2 separate regions of the Homo sapiens genome follow, and region 1 is linked to region 2. The links are contacts of gene promoters, found by promoter capture Hi-C in blood cells and fetal thymus (Javierre and others, 2016). All regions are on one chromosome and are shown on one strand. Each heading gives the region's core, a stretch centred on a gene start or on the middle of the fragment in contact. The rest is flanking DNA. Distances are from core to core; before and after follow the strand shown.

The links. The method cuts DNA at HindIII sites, captures the fragments that hold promoters and counts their contacts. A CHiCAGO score of 5 or more calls a contact.
Region 1: a contact is called between the fragment with the promoter of KAT6A here and the fragment with the promoter of THAP1 in region 2, in 3 of 17 cell types (fetal thymus, total CD8 T cells and naive CD4 T cells). The highest score is 7.7, in fetal thymus.

Annotation. Positions count from the first base shown.
Region 1 is chr8:42,050,708-42,053,670 of GRCh38, reverse strand. KAT6A (lysine acetyltransferase 6A) reads left to right here and starts at 1,684. Exons shown (of 17, transcript NM_006766.5): 1 at 1,684-1,770. It overlaps KAT6A-AS1 (KAT6A antisense RNA 1), which reads right to left and starts at 1,921. Exons shown (of 2, transcript NR_136589.1): 1 at 1,686-1,921. RefSeq lists enhancers at 550-1,070, 1,071-1,592 and silencers at 1,041-1,200, 1,391-2,020, 2,121-2,590. The HindIII fragment of the contact is 5,822 bases long and covers 1-2,891 here.
Region 2 is chr8:42,841,725-42,844,773 of GRCh38, reverse strand. THAP1 (THAP domain containing 1) reads left to right here and starts at 1,449. Exons shown (of 3, transcript NM_018105.3): 1 at 1,449-1,750. The coding sequence starts at 1,680. LOC124901940 (a long non-coding RNA gene) reads right to left here and starts at 1,840. Exons shown (of 2, transcript XR_007060901.1): 1 at 1,391-1,840; 2 at 1-1,007. RefSeq lists enhancers at 1,371-1,730, 1,066-1,856 and a silencer at 1,761-1,850. The HindIII fragment of the contact is 1,565 bases long and covers 690-2,254 here.

The DNA.
Region 1 (2,963 bases), core at 435-2,934, 790 kb after region 2:
CATTATAGGAGAGCATTTACCAGTGAATGTATTCGGAATATATATATATATATATATATATCACATGTAAGTGCAAAATGACTAGAGCAAATGATACTACTACAGAAGTTCAGAAAAGGAAGTCAGCATGGAAGTTAAGGCAGTGGGTGAGAGGGAGGCCCTTAAAAGCTAAAGCTGAGATAAAATGAGGTATTGCGGGCGACAGTCTAGGCGGGGTGTGTCGTATGGGGTTGGGGACAGGGCAGATAAAGGTCAGGCAGCAGGATACACGTCCATGTCAACGATTAAACATTTAGTGTCTTTTTCATGTCTACTGTCTTTCTAGTGAATGCAGAAAAAAAAAAAATGCATGACTTGGCCAGGTGCAGTGTCTCAGGCCTGTAATCCCAGCACTTTGGGAGGCCGAAGAGGGCGGATCACTTGAAGTCAGGAGTTCGAGACCAGCGGCCTGGCCAACATAGTGACACCCCGTCTCTACTAAAAATACAAAAATAAGCCAGGCGTGGTGGCGGGCGCCTGCAGTCCCAGCTACTCAGGAGGATGAGGTAGGAGAATCGCTTGAACCCAGGAGACGGAGGTTGCAGTGAGCCAAGATCGCACCACTTGCACTCCAGCCTGGGCAACAGAGCGACACTGTCTCAAAAAAAAAAAAAAAAGTATGACTCAGTCTCTGCATCAAAGAGTTTAAAGTAGATGAAAGGCAAGACAAAGAAACGTCCATACAGCCAGTAGTGGACAGGCAGGCCATGAAGAACCGCCTGCTCGTGGTTCCAACGCCCTAAGTATGGACAAGAGTTCCGCACAGGGCAAGAAGGGAAGACCGGCTTTGGAATAAGACAAATCTCAGTCCCAGGCTCAGGTGCGCGCCACATACTAGCTGTGTGACCTTGTCCAAGTCACACGACCCAGGTCTGTGGAGTCTCCCATAAAATGGCTCTAGTGAGCTCCAAGAACCCTCTCAGCTGCTGGGGGAGGGAAGAAATGAAGTCACTGCTGAAAGGGGTTAAGACGGGTGCTTCTGGTTCCACCCTCTCCCCAACTCTTCCCACCGACACAGGAGAGCCGTCGGGGGCTGAGGCGAGCTGCCAGGGGTGAGGACGGGAAGCCGCCTCCTCTCCGCCCCCCAGGCCCCGCCCTCGGGCTCCGGAAAGTCGCTGTGCAGGCAAATGAGTGGGGAGGGAGGGCTCACTAACTGTAAACAGACGCCGCCGAGAGTTCCCATCCTGCGTGGCTGCCGGATTTCCGTGCCACACTGAAGCCACCCCACCCAGACTCCTGCCCTCAGTTTCCCCAGCGGTGGCATGGGGTGCACCAGCTCCTCCTCTCCCGGGTCGCCGTCTGACTTAAACGCGTGAGACGGGAGAGGAGGAACCCCCGCTCCCCAGCCTCCAGCCCCACCAAGTCCTCCTCCTCCCCTGGCTTTGGCCTTTTGTACCGGCCCCACGTGACCCCGCCGGCCGGCTCTTCCCTGCTGCCCCGCCCCGCCCTCCGGCCTTTCCCGGCTCTCGGCCCAGCTCTTCCCGCTCTCGGCCGCCCCCCACCCGCGCTGCCGGGCCTCCGCCTCCCCTCGCCGCCCGCCCAGGCTCTTCCAGCTCCCTCCCCCAGGCCGCCGTTCCCTCGCGACGCTCCCCTCCCCCCGCGGCTGTTCCGCCGCCTTGCCTCCCCTCCCCCCGGCTGGAGCTCACTGTCTCCAAGATGGCGGCCGTGTCAGTTTGGGGCATCTCCGCGGTCCGGCCCGGGGCCCCGGGATCTCGGCTGTCCTTCCTCCCGGTAAGTAGCCGAGGGGCCGTTCCCGGCCGCCCCCGGCCGCCCAGCCCGAGGCCGAGCCGCTCCAGGGCCCACTCCGCTGCCTCGCGGGGTCGGCGGGCCGCTGCAGGCCCCGCCGCGGCCTGCGCCGCCTCCCGCTGCTCTGCGCCAGGCCTCGGGCTGGGGCGCCGTGGCCGCCCCCTCGCGCCCGCCCGCTCGCTCGCTCGCTTGCTCGCTTGTTCGGCGCCCGGCTGCCCCGGCCCGCGGCCCGCGCGCCGCCGCCCGGCCCCGCGCTCGCGGGCCCCGCGCCCCCGATCCCGCCGGCCGGGCCCGCCCTGGGGGAGCCGGCGGGTGGGCGGGCGGCGAGCGGCCCAGGCCGCGGAGCCTCGGGCTGGCGGAGCCGGCGAGCCCGCTCTCCCTCGGGGCGCGCCCACCCGCCCGCCGCGCGCGTGCCGGCTGTGCCGGGCCGGGCCGCTTCTCCCCGCGCTCGCGGGCGCTCGGGTTCGGGCTCGGGCTCGGGTTCCGGCTCCGGCTTTGGCTCCGGCCGGGGGCGCGGGGATCCGAGCGGGGCTGAGGCGGCGAGCGGGGCTGACAGGCCGGCGGGTGTTGTGGTGCGAGGCGCAGCACGTGTGGTGTTGTGTCTGCCGGGCTGTCAGCCCAGCCGCCGAGGGGAGGCCGGGCGCCTGTCAACCTCGCGGCTTGGCCCGGTGCGCGACTGTCAGGCTCCCAGCAACCCGCGCCGCCCTCGAGCCGGCCCCCAGAGCTTAGGGTGCGGAGCTGGGCCGGGGCTATGCACCGCTCTGAACTCCTTCACGTGATTTCATTGTTAACTTGTGCTCGGGGTCTGTTTCCATCGCGTGGAAACGGTGCAGCGCCCCGTCGGCGAGCTGCCGGGCTGTGCAGATCCAAGTTTTTAAAGTTTCTCGCTCTTTGAAAAGAGAGCGCGAAGACGTGTTTAGGGGTGGGGAATGGGGACGGGAAGGACTGTCGGAAGCGAGTTGCGCTCGCTCTAGCCGCTCGTGTACTTTCCGGGAGTTAAGATCCGAGGCTGCAGGCGCTTGACTTTCCGAAGACCTGGAGACTGATGACAATCCCGACTGGAAAGACAATGAGTGACTGTCACTCATTCTTTTACCTGCGAAGCTTAGTCAATTAGGACGTTCGTTCCCAGCTTGTTAAACTCAGGATGTAGCTTCTCATTTAGTTTAGACTTAATA
Region 2 (3,049 bases), core at 200-2,699:
GATGTGCTTTGCTACAAGGGTTTGTGATAAAGGATTAATTACTATATTATGTAAGAATCGATATTATCTTTATTTATGAGACAGAGTCTTACTCTGTCGCCCAGGCTGGAGTGCAGTGGTGCAAGCACGGCTCACTGCAACCCCCGCCTCCCGGATTCAAGCGATTATCCTGCCTCAGCCTCCAGAGTAGCTGAAATTCGAGGGCATGTGCCACCACACCCGGTTAATTTTTGTATTTTTAGTAGAGACGTTTTCACCATGTTGACCAGGCTAGTCTTGAACTCCTGACCTCAAGTGATCCGCCCGCCTCGGCCTTCCAAAGTGCTGGGATTACAGGCGTGAGGCACTGTGCCCAGCCCAATATTATTATCTTTAAAGCAAAATTAGGAATGCTTCTGTTCTCAAAATATCGGGATATCTGGACACTTGGTAGTCTGGGTCTGTGTAGTAAACATTATCAATCTGTTGCCTTAATGGTATACACATCTAGAGGCTAGGAATACCTAACTTCCCGGGAATGCAGCCCAGCAAGTCCCAGCCTCATTTTCCTAGCCCTCACTCAACACAGAGTCGCTCTAGTTCGAACCCCTCTAACATATTCTCTCTCAGGTGTGAAAATTGCTGCAGCAGTTCGCTATTTGCAACACAGCACATGGAAATCACAGCAATGGAGAGCCTTCAGAAAAGCTTCTGGGGAGGGACAGCCTGGTGGCTCAACTCCTGTAATCCCAACCCATGGGGAGGTCGAGATGGGAGGATCCCTTGAGCTCGAGTTCCAGACTGACCTGGGCAACGTGGGGAGACAACGCCTCTATTTATTTAAAAAATTACATATATATATATATATATACATACACACACACATATATACATACACACATATATACATACATATACATACATATATATAAAACGCTTCTGCGTTGGCAATTGAGATGATTTGGCGAGTGTGTCTTTTTTCATTGCTAAAAATCTGTCACGTTGGCTCTCACAGAAACTTGTGATACCTGAAGACACAGGTAATGGGATAAAGATTAGCACTCTGGGAAAAGGTTCCACAATTTTATTAATCATACACCATCTGTGTCCGCCCTTTTAAAGAAATGGGCGCAATCAGCCAACGACCTCGGCTTTACACCTGTTCTCCAAGAGGCCCTAGTTGTTCCCTACTGTAAGCTGCCCCAGAAAAGGTCCGCATCAATTAACCCACGGGAACAGCCCGGGGCTGGAGGATGCCCCAGGAATCCGGCCTCCCGCCGCGCCTCCTCCCCCCACAAGCAGTTCCTTCCTGCCTGCCGGAAGCTCAGGGCTCCGCCCACTTCGGCAACTCTGAAGCCACCGCCGGAAACACCTGGCCTCAGCCAATAGTTAGCTTCCCAGGAAACGTTACCTCTGACCTCGGGGCTAATCAGAGACAGTGGGACGCACCCCTCGCGAGAGGTGAGGTTGAAGCTGCCTCCGCCATCTTGGAGATGGGAGACGGGCGATGGCTGTGGTCCTTCTGCTAATGCAAACAACAAAACGGGCACACTAGTCACCCCCGAGGGAGGCCACCATCACTGTAACTGTTGGCCAAAGCTACAAAAGAAGCGAGGGAATCCAACCGAGCGCAGCGACACTGAGAACAGCTTCCCCTGCCTTCTGCGGCGGCAGAAGTGAAGTGCCTGAGGACCGGAAGGATGGTGCAGTCCTGCTCCGCCTACGGCTGCAAGAACCGCTACGACAAGGACAAGCCCGTTTCTTTCCACAAGTGAGGACCCTGCGCGCCTCGCGGGGCCGGTCTCAGCCGGGGTGGGGGCGCGCGGCCGGCGGGGCCGGGGGCGGAGCCAGGCGCGTGTCCGCGCGAGGGGCGGGTGGGGTCTGGGGCCGGCCGTGTCGGGCGTTTCCCACCGCGTCCCGCTGGGAACCGCCGCCCGATCGCGCGTTCTCGGCGCGCGTCGCCGCGGCAGCCGTTTCTCGCGCTCCTGGAACAGGCCCTGGTTGCAGGCTTCGCTCACGGCCTGGGTTGACGCGTTCGGAGCCCACGGGCGATGCCTAGGGTGGCGCGGGTTTTGCCACCACCAGGGTCACAGAGCAGCCAGGTGTTTTAATATGGTCTTAGGGGTAAATTTAAAATAGAAACAAAGGCCTTTAAACGAAGAAATCACTACTTTTCGCCCTTGCCGTGGATGGGAGGCCAGCATCGTAGCAATTAAGGGTTTTTTGGCTGGGAAATCAGGGAGAATTTTTGCCCCCAATCTCTAGGAACTAAGCTTTAAGGACCCTGTATTTTGGAGAAAGCTTCAGGTACTGCCGAGATAAATCGTTATCTTTTCAGCACACAATAATGATAATATGGACAGTTACAACATGGATCATAATAAAATGACTCACACGGATCTTTATTTATTATGGCATTACCTGTGCATAGAGAAAGCTCTTTCGAAAGAAACTGCCCCACAGCTTTCAGAGCTGTCTTATCCAGTAGGTAGCACAGTTAAGTGATAGGATCAAAAATATTCTCTTGAAAATAGGAAAAAAGTGCAGAGTTGTAATTACTTATGATAAACGCTTGTAAAATGTGACATAACATTTTCATTCAGCTGAATTTGTTTACAAATTTTAATTACATTTATGTTAAGTTTTCTTTGCAAGAATTCCTGACAGCTATACGCAGATGATAGGTAAGAAATCAGATCCAGGGGTAAACTATACAGATTAGCCATAGGTAATTAGCTAATTATCTTTTATAATTAGGTAAATAATTACAAAAGCAAAATGTTAAATATCTTTTCAGTTAATTTATTTTTTTGCTGTGGGGCCATCTGTGTTTACTAGGGGAGTGTCCATGCATTTTTTAAATATGTTTGATATCATGTGAGATGGACCCTATAGAAATAAGAGTGTGTAGAACATAGAGAGGTCTCCAGAGTAATAATGTTACCCCTTGGAGAAGGGGATAGAACACTTAGAGGATTCAGTTCAGGATATCCTAATATTATCTCTTGATTTAATTGGAATTTCTGTAAACATGTTCTTTCTAAATGTAGGGAAAGGTCAGGTGATGGTA